Regions from separate parts of the Homo sapiens genome. Here all the other regions are linked to region 1. Evidence: promoter capture Hi-C in human tissues and cell types (Jung and others, 2019). All regions are on one chromosome and are shown on one strand. The core of a region is centred on a gene start or on the middle of the fragment in contact, and the rest is flanking DNA. Distances in the headings are between cores, read along the strand shown.

The links. The method cuts DNA at HindIII sites, captures the fragments that hold promoters and counts their contacts. A contact is called where the count stands out against the background at its distance.
Region 2: a contact is called between a fragment that was not itself captured here and the fragment with the promoter of KCNK3 in region 1, in 8 of the 25 tissues and cell types used here (H1 embryonic stem cells, IMR-90 fibroblasts, aorta and 5 more).
Region 3: the fragment with the promoter of CIB4 here is called in contact with the fragment with the promoter of KCNK3 in region 1 in 4 of the 25 tissues and cell types used here (mesenchymal stem cells, mesendoderm cells, neural progenitor cells and 1 more).
Region 4: a contact is called between a fragment that was not itself captured here and the fragment with the promoter of KCNK3 in region 1, in 2 of the 25 tissues and cell types used here (mesenchymal stem cells and spleen).

Annotation. Positions count from the first base shown.
Region 1 is chr2:26,691,231-26,694,334 of GRCh38, reverse strand. KCNK3 (potassium two pore domain channel subfamily K member 3) reads right to left here and starts at 1,613. Exons shown (of 2, transcript NM_002246.3): 1 at 1,177-1,613. The coding sequence starts at 1,459. The HindIII fragment of the contact is 34,558 bases long and covers 1-3,104 here.
Region 2 is chr2:26,752,541-26,755,644 of GRCh38, reverse strand. No RefSeq gene overlaps it. Among named protein-coding and RNA genes, the nearest start is that of SLC35F6, 10 kb to the left of the region's middle. RefSeq lists enhancers at 365-1,112, 1,113-1,860, 1,861-2,608. The HindIII fragment of the contact is 6,016 bases long and covers 1-3,104 here.
Region 3 is chr2:26,639,734-26,642,837 of GRCh38, reverse strand. It overlaps CIB4 (calcium and integrin binding family member 4), which reads left to right and starts at 1,472. Exons shown (of 7, transcript NM_001029881.3): 1 at 1,472-1,577; 2 at 2,271-2,305. The coding sequence starts at 1,524. The HindIII fragment of the contact is 6,817 bases long and covers 1-2,878 here.
Region 4 is chr2:26,656,499-26,659,602 of GRCh38, reverse strand. No RefSeq gene overlaps it. Among named protein-coding and RNA genes, the nearest start is that of CIB4, 17 kb to the right of the region's middle. The HindIII fragment of the contact is 8,435 bases long and covers 1-3,104 here.

The sequences.
Region 1 (3,104 bases), core at 364-2,863:
GGAGAGGGAACAGTAAAGACAGAGGAAACTGCTTCTGGAGGCATCTCAATGGGCTTTGGGGGAAGGTGGGTTTCATCTCAGAATCCAAGCACGTCGGGGCTGGGGAGGAGCTCTTGAGATCATTTTGGCCACCCCTCCTTGTCTGGAGGTGAGCCTGAGACCCAGACAGGGGAAGGGACTTGCCCAAGGTCATATATCACGGTAGTGATGGAGCTGGGCTGAAATCATAGGGTGTTGGGGACAGGTAAGGTGTTATTCCCGTCTGGACAGTTTTGAATAGCACCACCAAGGGCCTGGCTAGAGATTCCTTTCCTGGGCAACGTTTGTTCTCTCTCTCTCTCTCTGTCTCTCTCTCTGTGTGTGTGTGTGTGTGTGCCCGCCCTGTGTGTACCCTGTGAGTGCCTGTGTGTATCTGTGTGCATGTGTGCCTATGCCTGTGTTGTCTGACAGTCTGGGTGTACGTGTGGCCTCCTACATGGTGATCTGCCCTGGCTTGGAAAGAACTGGGGTTATTCCTGTGAGGTGACTGTTTTGCTGGGACAGCAGAGAAGAAGGCTGACAAGGCCAGATCTGGCTTCCCGCACCAATTCTGCCGCTCTGAGAAAATCACAGGCACTGACTGGTGGCGACCAAACTCCTGGAGCTGAAACACGCAGACACACGTACACTCACAGCCGCCGTTATAGGGTGGCCCCAAGTGCCCCGAAGTGCCGCATTCCGACATCCTCATGCCTCCCCAGAGCCCAGCAGGTGTAGACCTGCTAGGCTGTGGAAGCCGATCCTCAGGGATACGGAGCACTGGCGCTCTCCCGCCGCTCACTCTCAGCGCCCTGTTCAGGGCCTGGCCCGGCCACACCCCTCCTGCCCGAGCCTCCGCCGGTCGTCCCTGCCCCTCTCACACACTTCGGAGTCCCTGGGGGCCTATGCAACATGGCAGGGCCAAGTTAGGGCTGGCCCGGCCGGAGAGTCAGGTCCGGAGCCAGGAATCGACGCCTCCCCGAGTTCCGTCCCCGCGGAGCACACACGCCAGGCTGAACTCGGGTTTCTGCGAGCGCAGGGTTCGGCGCCCAGCCCCTCTCGGGGGAGCCCCCGCCCCCAGCCCCAGCCGGCCCCGGACGACTCCCGGAGCCCCGCGCCCAGCCCTGGGTTCCCGCCCCCCGCCCGGCGAGCCGTTACCGATGGTGGTGATGACGGTGATGGCGAAGTAGAAGGAGCCGGCGAAGCGCCACTGCACGCCGGCCTTGTGCGGCTTGAGGCGCAGCACGACGCGCTCCAGCTCCTCGTAGCCGCCCTGGCTGAGGTTGTAGCGCGCCCGCAGCTCCTGCTGCCGCAGCTCCAGCCGCTGCCGCTCGATCAGCTCGGGCTCCGACTCCAGCGCGTCGAAGACCGCGGCGCCCACCAGCAGGTAGGTGAAGGTGCACACGATGAGCGCCAGCGTGCGCACGTTCTGCCGCTTCATCGTCCCGCCCGGGCCGCCGCCGGCCCCCCGGCGCCCCCGGCCCGCGCCTCGGCCCCGGCCGCCGCTGCTGCTGCCCCGGAGGCGGCCTGGGGCATGGCTGCGCTCGCCGCTCTCCGCGCCGGGCACCCGCTCAGCGCCCGGGGCCGCCGCCGCCGCCGCCGCCGCGGAGCTGTCCCTTCAGCACCACCCACCGCCCTCCTCCGCCCGGCCCCGCGCCCGCCCCCCGCCCCCCGCCCGCAGGCCGCCTCCTCCCGCCAGCCCTCCCGCCCAGCCAAATAAGGACTGGGGAGACGCGCCGAGGAGGGAGGAGGGGGGCTGGCGGAGGGGACGGGAGGGGCGGCCGCGAGAGAGCCCGGGCAGGACAGAGAGAGAGAAAGAGAGAGAGAGCGAGCCCGAGAGACAGAGAAAACTAGACAGCGAAACGCTGATAACTACGGAGAATGGGAGAAAGGCAGTGTAGGACTGAGGGAAGGGGGCTGTGTGACAGAGGAGGAGATAAAATCAGAGGTGCACTCAGACAGAAAAAGAAGAGAGGCGGGCAGAAAAATACAGAGCAAAAGATGGAAACAGAGAGAGCAACAGACTGAGACAGAGAGGCCTGGATTGCTGGAGATAAACTAATGACAGAGAAACAGACAGGAAGGCAAGGAAGGCAGAGCGAGCCCCTCCCCACCCCACCCTCCACCCTCATCACAGCATATTGCAGCCAGGAGGCACTTGGGGCCTCGCTGTCCTGCCCTTATCCTATGGATGAGGAAATGGAGGCCCAGAGAGGTCAAGTGACACGCATGGGCACGCAGTGATTTCGTGACAGCACTGGGACTCAGCCAAGCGTTCCTTCCTCCCAGGCCACACTCCTTCCTCCCTTGGGCCAGACTCTGGCTGTCTTGGAAGCAGGCAGGGCCCAGCTGTGGACCTGGGCACACATGAGCTGACACCCAAGGGAAAGCCCTGTTCTCAGGCAATGTGTGCCTTCCCAGGTCAGCACAGTTCTTGGAACTGGCTGAGAAGGCACAGGCTGGGAGTCTAGGCCTCCTGCTTCGCTCCCAGGGGCTTCTAGGCTGTCCCGACTCCCATGGTTCCTGTCTTGCACCCGTGCACCAGGCTGGGCTTAGGCTGAGTTGCCAGAGATAGCACCTGCCACCACCTTAGGGCATCCCAGCAGAACCGGGATCTAGCTGGAATTGGGCAGGTGGGGCCCAGAGCAGGAGGCTCACTGGCAGACTGCGGGAACTGGGGCAGGAGAGGGGGTCCCTATGCCTCAGTTTCTTCATTTGTCAAACATGGTGGCTATGGTGGTGAGGTGGGAAGGGTAGTGGAAACTCAGGCATTACTGACCCTCTCAGAGCCTTGTTTCCTTATCTTTTCAACGAGGTGTCGTAGCAGATGATCCCACAGGCCTTGCCCAGCTCTAAACAACTCCAGACTTGGATGGGCTGAGTGAGCAGAATGATTGGAATGCAAATCTCAGTGCCAAGAAGGGTTAAAAAGTCCTTCACAGGACCCTGGCATGGGCCAGGCAGAGAGACAGGGAAGAGACACCAAGGCCCCTGACTGAGAGCAGACTCAGGAGGCAGTCAGCCAGAAGCTGGAGCACTGTCTACCCACAGGCTGGGCTGACCTGTCACTGCCGGACACTACACTC
Region 2 (3,104 bases), core at 404-2,903, 61 kb before region 1:
ATACGAGTTTGATCCAGACTTCCAGCCTTTTCTCCCAAAGTTGGGGACATTTTGAACACATTTGCATGCTACCTGCAAGCAGGCTCTAACTTCCAGTCACTGCAAACCCTGCATTTGTATTCAATGCTTACTGCCAGCATGTGGCTTGTCTGAAAGACTGAATGCTTTCCCAATCAATGTAATTACATTCTGGATTAAGAGAGAGTTGCTTTACCCTGGAAAGGACAGAAAGATGCGGGCAGACAAGCCAGGTCACACCTGCTTTTGTTTTTTCTTTAAACAAGCTTTTGCTGTGTATCCTTGGGCCATTTCTCTCCAGTGTAGTCTACTCCCTGGCTAGAATGTGACTTCCTCCTGGGCAAGGACTGGGTATCTTGCTGCCTGTCTCTCCCAGCGGGGTTGGTATTGATGGGCAGTCACCTGGAACTGTGGCTAGAAAGAGGAACAAGAGGCTTGAGAGGAAGAGGACTGGGGTGGATTCCGGCTGGAAGCAGGTCTGACAAGACTAGATCTTGGAGGAAGGGAGTGTGGACTGTCTACACTGGCAGAGAGGCATAGATATTGGAGCTCATCAGCTCATTCTGGCTGAATTTACAGCTGGTTTCTATGGTGACCAGAGATGATCAGATTATAACTCACCTGCTCCTTCTAGCTGCAGGCCCTCCTAAAGTCATTCTCAAACCTTCTCTTTTTTCTTTCTTTTTTAATTTAATTTTTTTTTTTAGATGGAGTCTTTCTCTATCACCCAGGCTGGAGTACAGTGGCACAATCTCGACTTACTGCAACCTCCACCTCCTGGGTTCAAGCAATTCTCCTGCCTTAGCCTCCCAAGTAGCTGGGATTACACGCGTGCACCACCAAGCCTGGCTAACTTTTGGATTTGTAGTAAAGACAGGGTTTCATCATCATGTTGGCCATGCTGGTCTCAAACTCCTGACCTCAAGGTCTTGGCCTCTCAAAGTGCTAGGATTACAGGCATGAGCCACTACATCTGGCCTCTGTTTTCTTTCTTATCATCTCCTTTGGTCTCTACCCACCTCCCCGCTCCCACCTCTCACCCCCATCAGTGCTGATCACTAATCTTTTTTTTTTTGAAACAAGGTCTCACTCTGTTACCCAGATTGGAGTGCAGTGATACGAACTCGGCTCACTACAACCTCTGCCTCCCAGGTTCAAGCAATTATCCTGCCTCAGCCTCCCGAGTAGCTGGGACTACAGGTGACTGCCACCATGCCTGGCTAATTTTTGTCTTTTTAGTAGAGATGCAGTTTCACCATGTTGGCTAGGCTGGTCTCGAACTCCTGACCTCAGGTGATCTACCCGCTTCGGCCCCCTGAAGTGTTGGGATTACAGGTGTGAGCCACCACGACCAGCCCTGATCACTAATTTTGAGGTGGTCATTAGATTCTGGAAGCTTGGTCCTCTAAGAGCAGGATCAAGTCAGATTCAGATAAAACAGAAACTCCCAGGTAAATTTGATTTCAGATAAGCAATGAGTCACTTTGTAGTATGAGTATGTCCCTAGTGTTTAGGACATACTTATGAAGCTGTCCTCACAGGCTTAACAAGAATCTTGGACAGAAATATAGTTATAATTAAGCATAATGAGGCTGCACTTTCACCCACTTCCTTGTAACAGAAAGTCGCATAGCACTAGATACTGACCACTTGAATCCCCATTGTTCCTTTAGATTGGATCTCTGACATTAGAATCATAAGGCTTGGCTGGGCCTGTGATCCCAGCATTTTGGGAGGCTGAGGCAGGTGGATCGTTTGAACTCAGTGACCAACCTGGCCAACGTGACAAAACCCCGTCTCTACAAAAAATACAAAAAATAGCCAGGTGTGGTGGATTTGTGCCTATAGTCCTAGCTATTCGGGAGGCTAAGGTAGGAGCATCACCTGAGCCTGGGGAGGTTGAAGCTATAGTGAGCCATGATTGTGCCACTGCACTCCAGCCTGGGCAACAGAGTGAGACCATCTCAAAAAAAAAAAAAAAAAGAATCATAAGGGTTTTGTTTAAGAATTGCTTAAGATGTTTTTCAGGTCCCTGAATTCCAGTGAAACAGCTGATGCCAACCAGTTTGAAGACCTCCACAGAGGAATGAAAGCAACATAAGAATAGTTTCTTCATTTCCTTGTCCCATGACTTCATGCACTCTTTGCCTAATCAACGATCTCCCCACTTCAGCCCTCTCCAAAACCCTTAAAAACCCTAGCCCCAGGCCAGGCGAAGTGGCTTACACCTGAAATCCCAGCACTTTGGGAGGCCAAGGTGGGAGGATTGCTTGAGCCCAGGAGACCAGTCTAGGCAACAAAGTGAGACCCTGTCTCTATTAAAAAAAAAAAAATTTTAACCAGGCATGGGCACACGCCTGTGATACTAGCTGTATGGGAGGCTGAGGCAGAGGATTGTTTGAGCCCAGGAGGTCGAGCTCCAGCGAGCCATTTTTGCGCCACTGCACTCCAGCCTGGGTAACAGAGAGAGACCCTGTCTCAAAAAAAACAAAAAACAAACAACAAAAAACCCCCAGCCCCTGACTCCCTGGGGAGATAGATTTGAAGTTTCCTCCCTGTCTTCTCAGTGGACCTGTATTAAACCTCTTTCTCTGCTGCAACCCCGTGTCTGGGTGTATTGATTTGACAGGAGTGTCAGGCAATTAACCTATTACAGTTACGCTTAGAGTAAAAAATGATTCATTATTTGTCTAAAATTCAAATTAGATATGTATCCTGCATTTCATTTCTCAGTCTGGCACCCTGCTGGTCTGGCATCCAGCTCAGAGCCCTTGCTCAGAGACAGTGACTATGACAACAGCTAATTGAATTAGTGCATCTCAGGCACATTTTCCTTTCTAATATGCTGTTGACTAAGCTTACGATATTTTCTCCCTCTGACTCAGTTACATCTCTAAATTGATACCAGCCCCCTTGGACATGGCCTTCACCCTAGGGAAGCCTAGGTTCCTGTATTTAACACCATTCTCTTTTTTTAATTTTTTAAAAAATGTGTTATTTTTAAAAAAATAGAGACAGGGTGTTGCTATGTTGCCCAAGCTGGTCTTGAACTCCTGAGCTCAAATGATCCTTGTCCTTTGGCCTCA
Region 3 (3,104 bases), core at 223-2,722, 51 kb after region 1:
GAGAATCACTGGGATGTTTACTCAGGAGAGCATAGGGAAGATGTGTTCTAGAACAAGGAGACCAGCCTTTCATGACAAAGGTGGGTGTGCAGACCCTCCTGGAGGCAGGGGAGGGAGTGATGGCTTCTGGAAGGCCCTCCTGGCCTGTGATGTTGATGCCTGTGCTGGACGTTGTCTCTGTCTGCCCATCCTGCTCCGCCCTGTTCTCTTCCCTGTAGGAGATCACAGAAAGAGGAGAGAGTGGGGCTGGGGTGGTGCTTCCAGGTGGGTGGTGCTGGGTCGGGTAGCAGCTCTTTGTTGTTGGGCTCAGGAGTCTGTGTTATCCAGTTATCCATGTGACTTCCCTACACCCTGAACACATCTTTGTGGAGAGTCCTTTTTTTAGACCCTTTTCACATGATCCTGATTTGATGGTGCCCTTTGTTCCTGCAGAGACCCTGACTGATGGGGTGGAACGCCCTTTTCTGTACTTTTTGGGCCACTCCCTGAGGTTGGATCTATGCTGATATATTTCGGCATCCCCATGCCTGGCATAGTCCTGGGGTTGTGGTTCCTTGTTTATTTTTTATTTTGATTTGTTAGAGACAAGGTCTTGCTCTGTCACCCAGGCTGAAGTGCAGTGGTATGATCATCGCTCACTGCAGCCATGAACTCCTGGGCTCAAACGATCCTCCTGCCTCAGCCTCCTGAGTAGCTGGGACTACAGGTGTGCTGGTGTGCACCTCTGCACCCAGCAGGTTGTAGGGTTTTTTTGTTTTTTTGAGACAGGGTCCTAGGCTGGAGTGCAGTGGTGCGATCTTGGCTCTCTGCAACCTCTACCTCCCAGGTTCAAGCGATTCTCCCATCGTAGCCTCTGGAGTCACTGGGACTACAGGTCATGCCACCATGCCAGCTAATTTTTGTATTTTTTGGTAGAGACAGGGTTTCTGCATGTTGGCCAGGCTGGTAGCAAACGCCTCACCTCAAGTGATCCACCAGACTTGGCCTCCCAAAGTATTGGGATTAGAGGCGTGAGCCACCATGCCCAGCTAGGTTGTGGTTCAAATAGCTAGCATTTATTGAGCACTTACTATGTGCCTGACATTATTCCCTGTATTCGTCAATCCTCACAACAATCCCATGATTATCATCCCCACTTACAGATGAGGAAACTAAGACACACAGATATTGAAGAGCTTGTCCCAGGTTACAATGGGGTGGATCTGGGATTGGAGCCCAGGCACTGTGACTCCTGAGCTGACAGTGTGACTCTCAGCCCCATCTTTGGACTGCCTTTCTGCTTGTTGTATGGGACTGATGCCTCTTAGCTTTGGGATTGAAAATAATTTGCTTCTTTGCTAACTCAGCAACTCAGGTGGAATGGGAATGAAAAGAATTTGTTTCTTTGCCAACTCAGTAACTCAGGTGGAATGGGCAGAAGGTGGAATGTAGGTCACCATGGCAACTGGATCAACGAGGTGCCTCAGCTGGCGAGTCCTTGAGGCTGAGGTTCTACTGCTGGCAGACAGAAAGGTGTGGTTGGCATGGGGCAATGCTTGAGGTATCAGATGCACTGGGAGGACCTGGAAGAGTACCAGGTGGGTAGATCGGGCTAGGGACTCTGGGCAGAGGTGGGAGCTTCCTAAAGCAGGTGGAATGAATGGGAAAATTCCTTCCTGACGCTCTAGCAGGGGTGTCCAATTTTTGGCTTCCCTGGGCCACATTGGAAGAAGAATTGTCTTGGGCCACACATAAAATACACTAACACTAATGCTTGCTGATGAGCTAATAAAAAAAAATCACGAAAAAATCTGATAATGTTTTAAGAAAGTTTACAAATATGTGTTGGGACCCCATTCAAAGCTGTCCTGGGCTGCATGTGGCCTGCAGGCCGTGGGTTGGACAAGCTTGCTCTAGAGTTTACCAGGCGGGGTAGCGGTGGTCCCTCTCTTTGCTAAATCTGCATCCATGTGGCCCAGATGAGATCTCTAAGGTTACCTTCCTCCATCTGTCTCCTGCACCAGAGCCCAGAGTTTCACTCTTGTCTCTGATCTGCTCTCCACATCTGTGCCAATGCCCTCCTTCCCAGGGCTGTAAGAGACTAGGGGGTAAGAAAGAGCACCATTTCCTCTCCTGCTGCCACCTCAGGCATCCACCTCAACCTGGGGTTCCCCCAGCTGTGCAGCAAAAGAATGGGCATTTCCTCCCCAGCCTCTGAATTGCGCCACTCCCCAGGGGCCACAGCAGGGATGAATGGAGTGGACACGTCGCTTCTCTGTGATTTGTTGCAGGCCCTGACCTTCCTGACCAGAAATGAAATTCTGTGGTGAGTAGAAGCCCCGCCCCTCTTTCCTTCTCCCAGCTCCTCCCTCTGAGCTGGATTCTTGCCCTAATACAGCCTCACGCTGGTCCCTGAGTGTGGTCCCTGCTCAGAGCCACACAGCCCTGGAGATGGGGCTGGGACACGGCAGGCAGGGATGGGAGGGCCCAGGGGCCACGATCCGCAGAGCCCCACTGGAGCTGAATGAGACACCAGGCTTTAGGCTGCTAACCTTTTACTGGGATCCAAAGTGAGGTTTCTTCAGAGGATCATGGAGCTGGACAGAACCTCTTTGGAATAATGAGGAGAACAAGGAAAGGACTTGGGGAACTTATGTCTGAAGCCCATTTTGGCTGTCCACTGGCTGGGTAAACTTGGATGCATGACTGAAGCCCAGACTTCCCTCTCCACCTCCCTCCCTCCCTCCCTCCCTCCCTGCCCTTTCTCCGGTGCCTGTGATGTGCTGGCCTCGTGGAGGCCCTGAGGGTGGGGTGGTGAGCAGCCCCGCTCCCTGTTGTCATGCGGACCGCTGTCCAGTGGGGAAGAAACTTCATTCAACGTGGAGGTGGCCAAATACCCTTCTCGTGGGGCTGTGGGGGAGAGTGAATAGTGTGAGAGGTGTGTGTGTGTTTGTGTGTTTGGGCCAAGCCAGGTGCCCAACAAAACCTGTTAGATGAATAAAGGAGCTCACCAAGACACTTTCAGGGGAAGGTGGGGGAAGGTTCCCTCTCATCATCTTTGCTTGGACTAACCCTCCCCAGTCACCACACGGAAGCCACATTTCCCACTCAGGGTCTGGTGGTGG
Region 4 (3,104 bases), core at 248-2,747, 35 kb after region 1:
TCTCTCTCTCTCCTTGTTGTCCTTTGTTATGGAATTAAAAGTTACTTTACAGTAAATTGATGTTTTTCTTTTTTTTTAATTGAAAAAATGACATTTTAGGAACATAAACTGTGTCTGCCTTTTCAGGTGGAGACTAGAATGCTTTGTGGAAGATGTTCTTTTGTTTTGGAATGCACCACTAGAGTTGATCCTTTGAGCTAGGCTAGTATAAAACAGCCAGGGTCTACCTATCATTCTTGGGGAGTATGGGAAAGCACTGACGGGCCTCTAAAGGGGATTACTTAGTCTGAGATGTTAATACCATTTAGTAATATACATTTAATGAATTTGTTGAATTATGTCTCTGAGGATTGTTTTATTTAGAGCACCACCATCTCCTAATTTGGAATGTGACTATCTTATGCCTGAAATTGATGTGTCCTTGCAATGTTGTGTGTTACTCTGGGATCAGTTGTTTGCACAAGATAAGGAGCTGCGGTGGAGAAGAATGTGGGAGAGAAGGGCTCACTTCTTCAGCTCAGGCTGGAGAAAAAGTGCAAATGAGCCCGACGGGGCTCTGCTCGGTCCATCCTGGACCTGGGAGTTGGTGTCCCACTGAGGTGCTATTTTAACCTGCCCATCCTAGCTTTGGGGAAATATCCTAGCCAGTATTTTATTATCATTTTTTTGATATCCCTATTATCAGTAATGCAAGAAAGAGGCTAATTCTGGTGCAGGCAAGAGGGTTTGGGAGGCAGATCTTAGATGTGAGTGAGAGTAAAAAAACACTTCCTGGGGCTGGGGAGGTGGGGAGAGTTGCTTAGACCTGGACTCCAAGGAAGGGGATAGTTGCGATAGGCCTGGTGGTGGGAGGAGATTTATCCTTCCAGCTCCAGGCAGCTGATGGGTGAGGTGGGGAGGGGGCCTGTGAAGGACTTTGTGGGTTTGTGTTTTTTCTGAGATGGAGTCTCATTCTGTCGCCCAGGCTGTAGTGCAGTGGCACGATCTTGGCTCACTGAAACCTCCACCTCCTGGGTTCAAGCGATTTTCATGCCTCAGCCTCCCAAGTAGCTGGGATTACAGGCATGCGCCACCACACTCAGCTAATTTTTGTATTTTTAGTAGAGACGGGATTTTGCCATGTTGCCCAGGCTGGTCTCGAACCCCTGACCTCAATTGATCTGCCCGCCTCGGCCTCCCAAAGTGCTGGGATTACAGGCGTGAGCCACTGCACCCGGCCATGGCTTTGAAGTTAGCTCTGGGCTAGGTGCTCTCAGCAGAGCCACTTCTAAGAACAGTTATAGGTTGCACTCTGGTGTGTACTTTTCTTTTCCCCCTCAGATTTCAGGAAACTTTTCTTAATTTGCCTTTGGGTGTGCTGTAGAATTAGGAGAAAGCCTGGCACATGGGAGGACAGAGTGAGACCTGACTGGCTCTGGGTGGGATGTGCCAGGGACCGGGGGGCAGGTGGGCAGAGAGTGGTTGGAGGTGAACCTGAGCAGGGTGCCAGGGCCAGAGCCTGGAGAGCTTTGCATGCCATTTGAAGGAAGCTGAACTTACCTTGTAGGCCCCTGAAGGATATTAAGCAAGATGGTGGTGTGATCAAACTTGCATTACAGGGAAACACCCCAGGATTTCTCATGAATTTATAGACAGCTGCAGTGGACGTCTGCTGTTTTTATCTGCCCAGCACCTCTTCCACCCCTGCTGCAGTAACAGAACCCCTCTTTCCTGTGGGGAACCTTTTTCATGTGAAAGGCAGAGCTGACTGCAGTCTTCTCAAAACCAGGGAGTGTGCTCATGACCCAGGCCAGGCCAACAGGAATGCCTGATCGGGCAATGGGTACTGTTTCAGGGACAGGGCTGTGATTCAAGTTTGGGCCTAGGACTTTCCCAAAAGAGCTTCTAGAGGAAACCAATTCATTCTGGTGGGGTCTCTAAGCTGATAGGATAAGAATCTAGTGCTACTGGTGACCAAGAAGGCTTCTTGCCATGTGGAGAGAAAATGTTTGATAGATGGCATGAGACAGAGCCCCAGGGATTTAGTTTGAGGCACAAGATCCAGCCATAGATAATGCCAAGTAGAAACGATCAGGTGAAGGAGAGAGAGACTTAGAGAACCCTGAGGACATGTTGAGCTACTGGATCCAGCCATTCCTGAAGCTTACTTGACTTGCCCTTTTACATAAGCCAATACATTTTTTTCTTGCTTAACTTACTTGGTTGGATTTTTCTCACTTAGGAGTGAGAGTCCTCACTAATAATTGCATGTTCTTCCCGATTGGCTCTTCCCTAGACTCAATATCCCAAATTCAGGCGGGCACGGTGGCTCATGCCTATAATCCCAGCACTTTGGGAGGCTGAGGCAGGCGGATCATGAAGTCAAGAGATCGAGACCATCCTGGCCAACATGGTGAAACCCCATCTCTACTAAAAATACAAAAATTAGCCGGTCATAGTGGCATGTGCCTGTAATCCCAGCTACTCGGGAGGCTGAGGCAGGAGAATCGCTTGAATCCAGGAGGCAGAGGTTGCAGTGAGCCAAGATTGTGCCACTGCACTCCAGCCTGGCAACAGAGTGAGACTCTATCTCAAAAAAAAAAAAAAAAAAATCCCAAATTCATTTTACTTCTGAGATGGTTTCTAGATCCCCCTCCTCCCTGGTCACCCTCCTCTGGATGGAGATGCCCACATTAGTTCCCTGAGGAACCCTGCTTTCTTAGGCTTGTATTGCAGTAAAGTACATGATGGACTCTTCTCTGAAGAAATCGAGATATAAACTTGATACCTGTGGGCTGGATGTTGGTGAGGCCTTTTGAGGGCACTCTGGTCAGGGCCAGGCATGATTGGAAGTAGCTACACTTTTTTTTAAATTTTAATTTTAATTTCAATAGTTATTGGGGTACGATTGGTTTGTGGTTACAAGGATAAATTCTTTAGTGGTGATTTCTGAGATTTTAGTTCACCCATCACCTGAGCAGTATACATTGTACCCAATTTATACTCTTTTATCCCTCAAGTGCCCCTCCCAAGAAGTAGCTACACTTCTATAAAGAACAAAGCAAGGCCGGGCGCGGTGGCTCACGCCTGTAATCCCAGCACTTTGGGAGGCCGAGGCGGGTGGA